Regions from separate parts of the Homo sapiens genome. Here region 2 is linked to region 1. Evidence: promoter capture Hi-C in human tissues and cell types (Jung and others, 2019). All regions are on one chromosome and are shown on one strand. Each heading gives the region's core, a stretch centred on a gene start or on the middle of the fragment in contact. The rest is flanking DNA. Distances are from core to core; before and after follow the strand shown.

The links. The method cuts DNA at HindIII sites, captures the fragments that hold promoters and counts their contacts. A contact is called where the count stands out against the background at its distance.
Region 2: a fragment that was not itself captured here is called in contact with the fragment with the promoter of C4orf46 in region 1 in 1 of the 25 tissues and cell types used here (lymphoblastoid cells).

The regions. Positions count from the first base shown.
Region 1 is chr4:158,670,413-158,674,083 of GRCh38, forward strand. It overlaps C4orf46 (chromosome 4 open reading frame 46), which reads right to left and starts at 1,475. Exons shown (of 2, transcript NM_001008393.4): 1 at 1,204-1,475. The coding sequence starts at 1,389. It overlaps ETFDH (electron transfer flavoprotein dehydrogenase), which reads left to right and starts at 1,884. Exons shown (of 13, transcript NM_004453.4): 1 at 1,884-2,078. The coding sequence starts at 2,045. RefSeq lists enhancers at 454-1,090, 1,091-1,727, 1,570-2,129, 1,731-2,232 and a silencer at 1,080-1,149. The HindIII fragment of the contact is 11,975 bases long and covers 1-3,671 here.
Region 2 is chr4:159,186,565-159,190,632 of GRCh38, forward strand. RAPGEF2 (Rap guanine nucleotide exchange factor 2) reads left to right here. Exons shown (of 30, transcript NM_001394067.2): 2 at 78-148. Among named protein-coding and RNA genes, the nearest start is that of MIR3688-1, 60 kb to the left of the region's middle. The HindIII fragment of the contact is 3,893 bases long and covers 663-4,068 here.

The DNA of each region.
Region 1 (3,671 bases), core at 225-2,724:
GAGATTTCATCATAAATAATTCTTACTGCTATTTGGGTAACATGGGCATTGACCTGTGAACACTTTAAACAATGAAAATGTATAGATCAAAGAACAGAAACTCTGAGCTCTGACAAATAACATTAAAAAATCACACACAAATGCAGAAAACACTCAGCTCCTGGTGGAAAATTCACTTTTCAGCCAAACGTTTTCTTCACCAATGATATAAAATAAAACAGTGTTCCTCAATAACACATTAGCACTTCATTCTACATATTTACTTGCAATCAGTTTGTTCTGCAAAAATAAAAGCTGGTTAAGCACTCTAGTCATCCTTAAAAAAAAATACTTGCGGAGCAATGAGATAATCTAGTTCATCCCCTAGTTTCCAATCTGCAGGAAAGGTCAGGCCACAGAACTCTCCCAGGTTACACTCTACATACCTCATTCCACTTGACCCACTCAAGAGAACATAAAACTCCCCTTCCCTGTCTTCTCCCCTCCAGTGGTGTGTGAGTTACGGTTGGGAGGTGGGGTGCTAGTTTCTGGGGATTCGAGATTTAACAGAAACTATCCTAAGTATGCATTCTAGCAATCATACAAAGGGAGGAGTCCTGAACTAAACCGTCAAAGAAGCCAATCCACGTGACCTAAACCCTTCAAGCTGGGTCCAGCGCTAAGCAGGCCTGGGGCAGACAATGGCATTATCAGCTGTCCCTGGGCAGGTGGCCAACTAGAACAGCAGGCTCTAAGTCCCATGGAAAGAAATCACAGCCTGATCTCAAGTACCCACAGAAAGCCAGCAAACTCATGCAGTGAAAACTATTCTCCGAAACCCATGCAATGAAAACTATTCTCCGATGGGAAAGGAGGAGGCAGAGAGCCAGCAACAGGCAGCGCAGAGCTGCGTGGCTTCGGGTTACTGCGGATGATTGAAACCAGAAGGCGAGACAAAAAGAAACCAGTGAGGGGTGGGGCGGGTGGAAGGAAAACCCCTTAAGACTCCTCACCACTAAATCTAAAGGGGGAACCCTCAGAGAGGGGTGGCACTTTAGCTGCTGGCATCCCCCCCGCTTCCCGCCCGCACGCTCTGGGGCGCAGAAGGGCCGGTCGTCCCGGGTCATGGGGGTTGGGGGACCGATTCCCTAGCCTCGCGAGCCCCGCCGCCGCCGGTCTTCCCAGAGGCGCCGAGGGGGGACGCGGTCCCGACACCACACTCACGTCTCCGATCTGCAGCTCCACTTCCTCCAGCTGGTCCACCGTTGGGCCGCTGCTCCTGCTCGGAACTGGCCAGCCCAAACTCACTGGGCCGCCCGGGGAAGATGCTGCAGAGGCGTCTGAAGAGGAGGGAGAAGAGGGAGGCGGCGGGGGCGGCGAAGAAACCTGCAACTCCTCAGGGTCGGCCATGGGGAAGGGTTGGGACCGCGGAATCCGACCCGAGAAGCCGAACCGACACCAACTGTCTTTTAACCACTCGCGCCCAAAGCCGAAAGGCCCCGCCTCCTAACGCCAGAAATCCCGCCCAGTCTCCTCGTGGGTCTCAGCCCCGGACCACAAAGACGTTTCATTTTTCGGGACAGCCAATCATATGAGTCAATTCACCTTAGGCAACTCACGGCTCCTGCGCGAGCCTCCAATCGATCTCGAAGGGCACTCGTAGAGAAAACTACACCTCCCAGGAAGCCGTGTGCGTCGCCCCGCCTTCTACTGCCTTTCACTGCGCGTGCGTCGTGCTGTGGGATTCGCGGACCCCTCTGGCCGCGCTGTGGCTGTTTCACCGCTCCCCGGCTGGGACTTGGAGTCCCTTATCTTTCCCTGGTTTGGTACATGACCCGGAAGCCTCGGCTGGCCGTTGCGTCATCCATGGCGCCGGCGCAGAGCGAGAAGGAGGTGGGAACGCCGTGAAGCAAGAGCGGTCGGCAGAGCGGGGAGGCGAACTGCAGCAGAGTTCTTGCTTTCCGGCAGGTGATGGCGCCCCCCGCGGCCTAGAGGTCCAGCGCCCGCCGCGAGCAGCGGACAGTCCTCCTGTTGTGTCCGACCGAGAGTCCTGGTGACTTTGAACATGCTGGTGCCGCTAGCCAAGCTGTCCTGCCTGGGTGAGAGGAAACGGGCGGTGGGGATAAGTGGAGGAGTTAGGGCAAAAGGGACAAGGCCGGTCCTGGGGGCTGTAGGCACCTCTCGCCCCTTCTCTCATCAGCTTTCTCAGGCTATCTAGGGCAAAGGTCACGCGCTGTCAGCCTGTTGGGGGACCCTGGCTTCCTCCCTCTGGGGTTGCCCCAGTTGGTAGAATTAATATCTAGGCTAAAGGTCAAGGGCGGGGAAAACTTGTCAACACGCCCTCGGCATCACCACCACCTGTCAACACACACACACCTCGGTGGACTCCTGAACTGAGGCTTCCCAAATCCTGGTTCTAATCTTCAAACCTCTGTTGGAAATGGAAAAAAAAAAATCGTATTTGCCCAGTTTTTCTCCCTGGTCCTGACCTGACTTTCGTCTTCGGAGCCATTCTAGTTCAGTCTAAAGAAATTGAAGTCTGATCTGTCACATCATGGTTAACATTCATATGTTGACCAAGTCACCCAAGTGTATCTGGAGCCAGTTTTTCTGCGTTGTCTAAAATTAAGGGCTGGGCGTGGTGGCTCAAGCCTGTAATCCCAGCACTCTGGGAGGCTGAGGCGGATGGATCACCTGAGGTCAGGAGTTCAAGACCAGCCTGGCCAACATTGTGAAACCCCATCTCTACTAAAAATACAAAAATTAGCTGGGCGTTGTGGCCCACTCCTGTAATCCCAGCTACTCAGGAGGCTTAGGTAGGAGAATCACTTGAACCCGGAGGTGGAGGTTGCAGTGAGCTGAGATCGCACCACTGCACTCCAGCCTAGGTGAAAGAGCCAGACTCCGTCTCAAAAAAAAATTAAATTAAATTAACTCTAAGGGCTTTATCGTGTTATGGGTATTCTGTGAACCATCGTGACAGATGAAGTTGGATGGTCTTTTTAAAGTTTTACTTAAATTTTTGTTGTTGTCGTTAATTCAAACAGAAAAGTTCCCTAAAGGATCTCATATTCTGTCATAACTGGCTTAATTTTTTTAAATCTTTAGTTTACTTAAGTTTTGGTGATAGAATCATTAAGTCTAAATATTCCAAATTCAAGGATATTCTTATGAAATTTCATGAAAGTAGAATTTTGTTAAATTTGGCTTCCATATATTAAGAAATTAGAACTTTGTTTAAATTTCATGTCACCCATGCATTTTTTGCTGCACTTAATGTATGGATAAGATGGTGTTTGGAACGTTAAAGTAGTCAGATGCTATCTGCCTTAGAGCCTAATTTAGATGCAATCAGCCTTGGGCCCAGTGCTAACCAAATTCCACTACCATTTCTGTTTTCTTTGGATGGCAATTCATTGCCATTTTCGTAGCCTGCTGGCATGAAAGAGGTAGACACCAATGTGCCATCAGTGTGACTTTGATATGGTGATGCTATGAGTTCAGTGGACTTTGTGACTTCTCTTCTCAACCACGGAGACTGAATATTCCAATCTCTAAAGTGAGATATCAGATGTGTTTTCAGAAAAGGGGTAAAGGTTGTGACTTTTTTTTCCAATCCTTTGGAGAAATTCAGACTACACAGTTCCAAATATTCTCAAGAAAATCAGTAGCTATACAAGCAGTAGAAATAG
Region 2 (4,068 bases), core at 1,359-3,858, 520 kb after region 1:
GTAGATACAGTGTGACTTATTTTAGAAACCCCTTTTCCTGACAGGTCTAATAATTTCTATTCTTTTCTTTGAAACAGGATCTGGAAATAGTATATTCCTATTTACATGGTATGGAAGCCTTATCAAACTTGAGGGAGCATCAACTTAGGTATGTCATTTTAATATTCAGTTAATCATAGAATGGTAAAAATTTGAAGCATGTAACAATTTAACATTTTAATTTTTTACTTTTATTCTTACTTGACATAATAATTGTACATATTCGTGGGGTACATTCTGATATTTTAATACATGTATACAATGTATTGTGATCAAATGGGGATTATTAGCATGTCCATCACTTCAAACGTTTATCATTTCTTTGTGTTATAGCATTTGAAATCCACTCTTTGAGCTATTTGAAAATACACCACAAATTGTTGTTAATGATATTACCCTATAGTGCTATAGAACACCAGGACTTATTTCTCCTACCTAGAATGCTAGAATTTTATAGATCACTTACTGTAGTCAACAAGTAGGCTTAAAGGAATCTTATTCATGAAAAGTCTGCTTCATCTAGGTCCTATACTAAGGAGCTTAAACTTACACTAATAATATATACTTAATTAAGTTTTACTTTTACAAAGTTGAATTCAATTGTATCCAGTAAGAGAATAATATTTTGACATTTCTGTCATAGTTATATTCTTCCATTTCCACCCCAGGGTCTGTCTCTGTCTCTTTCTTCTTCCTCCTCCCCTTTTTTTTCTCTGTCTCTCCCCATCCCCCTCCACTTCCCTCCCTTCCTCTCTCACTTCTCACCAAAAGTAGTAAATGCCACTTGGTGAATATATCAATAGGGGCAATATTTGCCATCTTGGCAAATAAAAACCTACTACTTAGCATTCAGATATATTAGAAACCAGAACCTTTTAAATTAATCATTTAAAGAATTACTAGGTCCATTATTTTAGTATGTTGTATATCTTTGTTTGAATATTTTATTGCATTAAGTAGACTACCTTTTTCAGAGAAACACAGTTTATACTATATTTGTTTTTATGAGATCTGCCCATATAGAAATCTCATCACTTCTGTTGTACAGTAATACAGCAACTATATTTATGTTTATCTGGGCTTCATATTAAAGAACAAAAATGATTTTACCTTAAGTGGGATATAAAATAAAGGACCTTAGGAAGATGGATAATATATAAACACCAACTAGGACATAATGGGAAAGTCTTGTTTTTTCCAGGTCTAGCTATTTTTGATGCCAGCGGGTTTTAATTATGAAAGGAATGCTTTTTCCATATATTTCCCCTTTACTCTTTCAACACTAATTAATTTGTGAGCATGTCAATTCCATATTTAGTTAATTGAAAAGAATATCAAGAGGATTGAGTACTTCTAAAATTAAATTTTTAATGAAAGTCATTTAAATTAAAGTAGATTGTAGATTAAGTGTTTAAAAATTAAGTCAAGTTTTATTAGAAAGGGCAAAACCACTGGGATTTTAGAAGATGGCTCAAATTAGAGCAAGAATAATTTTTAAAGTGTGTAACTTTCATTTTATATTTTGTGACGACAACTTTGCTAAGAAAAAATTGTACTAACAATTATTTAATTGCGTGCGGTTAATTCATAAATGGAAATGCAACTAATTAATATGTAAATACAAATGTCACATTCCCACTGTGCACATAAAACCACACATGTAATATTTAGATATATTGATTATATAATGCATTTTATTTAGATAATAGGAATTCTATGCAATAGAAAAAGGATTTTTTATACTTACAGAAATTTTCTGGATGACAAAAGTATAAATAGGCTGGGCGTGGTGGCTCATGCCTGTAATCCCAGCTCTTTGGGTGGCCGAGGTGGGTGGATCACTTGAGGTCAGGAGTTCAACACTAGCCTGGCCAACGTGGTGAAACCCCATCTCTACTAAAAATACAAAAATTAGCGGGGCGTGTTGGCAAACGCTTATAATCCCAGCTGCTGTGGAAGCTGAGGTAGGAGAGTCGCTTGAACCTGGGAGGCAGAGGTTGCAGTGAGCAGAAATCGCACCACCGCACTCCAGCCTGGGCAACAGAATGAGACTACATCTCAAAAAAAAAAAAAAAGAAAAGAAAAAAAAGAAAAGGTATAAAAATACTAATGAAGTTCCATACACCCATCAGCCAGTTTCAGAACTGTCAACTTTCTGCAGCTGCAGAAGTAATTTTGGTTATAAATAATAAGTTCAAGGGTATAGTTGAGTCTATTTACACCTTAGAATGTCTATTTTGGAGCCTACACAGATGTGTTTGTTGGCATGAACCTACAGGGCGGAGCCTGTGAGATGTTTATCTTATGCTTGTGTTGAAGTCATATTAATGGAAAACATCACCTTAAACTAATTTAAGTTCTTTTTTAGAACAAGATCAGGATACCACATACATAATAACAAAAATAGAGGTACAGATAAACCCAACAACTTAAACTGCTTTATAATACTACAATTTCTGGGAAAAATATATCTCCTTTAGATAAATTATTTTCCTTTAATTTTATACCCTGGGAATAATAGAGAGCAGTCAGTTAAGACTTCCACATGACACAGTTTTACAATTTTAGGAAATAAGTGCTCATAATCAAGATTTTCAGTCTGTTAAGTATTGGGCAGTAGAGCAGCAACATTCGTGTTCTCCTGTGGGGGAGTGGAAGTGGCTTTTATTTATTTGAAAGCTTCCCTGCATTGTTACAGAGCAGTTAAAGTAGACATTACTGTGTTGCTGTAAGATCACACACTGTGCAATGTAAAGGTTTTTCAGATCTTCACTAAAAACTATGTTTCTTCATCATTTTAACTATTTTTCTAATGTTTTATCCGTTTAGTTTATATAGGCAAGAAGCAGCATATTTGCCAGCGGGGAAGAGTATGCTGTAATTGGGAGCAGAGACCAAAAATCTGTTTAAAAAAGTAGAGTAATTGGGGCTATTCAGTTTTGGAAACAAGAGCCTGCTGAAATAAAATAATACATATTTTCTGCAGCATCATGGATGAGTGTAATTGTTACTATATAGGCGCCTTTAGATCTTTGAGTAGTAACCGAATTATGGTTATTATTCTCATAGGAACTCAGGGAAGGTCAATATGCTTCAGCTAAAACATTGTCTAACAATGTTTAAAGACAAAAAGCATTTTGGTACTTGATTCCTCCATTTATGACATTTTCATATAAGAGATTTTATCATGACTTTCTGATAGCACTGTTTAAATTTATTTTATAAACAGTTATCAATTGATTGTATACTTACTGTGTACTTGATATTGATGTAGGCTCTGGAGATACTGCATTGAAGTAAATCAAACCCCTGACATCACGGAACTGAGGTTCCTAGTGGAGCAGAAAAGATTGATATTTGGATCAATGTTACTTTATTTAGTATGCTGGACATGATGAGGATGGGTGCTAGACAGCTCTGGCTTTGGAGTCAAAAGGAGGGGTGACATTAGAGTCAGGACAGCCTGCAAAGATTTCTTCAGTGTAGAGGTGCCCCAGATGCTCTGTCATGGGCACAGGCTTGGTGCAGGGAAAGGCAGGGTCCACGGTATAGTAAGGCACAGTAAGTAAGTAAAATATAACAGTGTAGAAGTATAGCAAATAGCATAGGAGTTTGGATTTTCTTTTAGAGGTTGTGGAGATTAGAGTGGAGCTGTGAGATCATCTGACTTAGTGGTTGGAAAGATCTCTGGAAGCTTTGTGGGGCCTTGTGGGGAATGGACAATAGGCATGTAAAGGTGGAAGCAGAAGTCTCTGTACTTGTGGTCTTGGTAAGGGATAATGGTGGGATAATGATAGCTCATGCTAGATTTAACAGGAGAGATGGTGAATTTGGTCAGTTCTGGAGGATGTATTTTGGAAACAGGTGATGGCGGAAAGATGTATGTGAAGAAAAGAGAGAAGTCAGGAATGATGACTCTAAGGTTGTTACTGTATTAGTCTGTTCTCACTATAAGGCCATACCCGAGACTGGGTAATTTATAAAGGAAAGAAGTTTAATTGACTCATAGTTCCGCATGGCTGGGGAGGC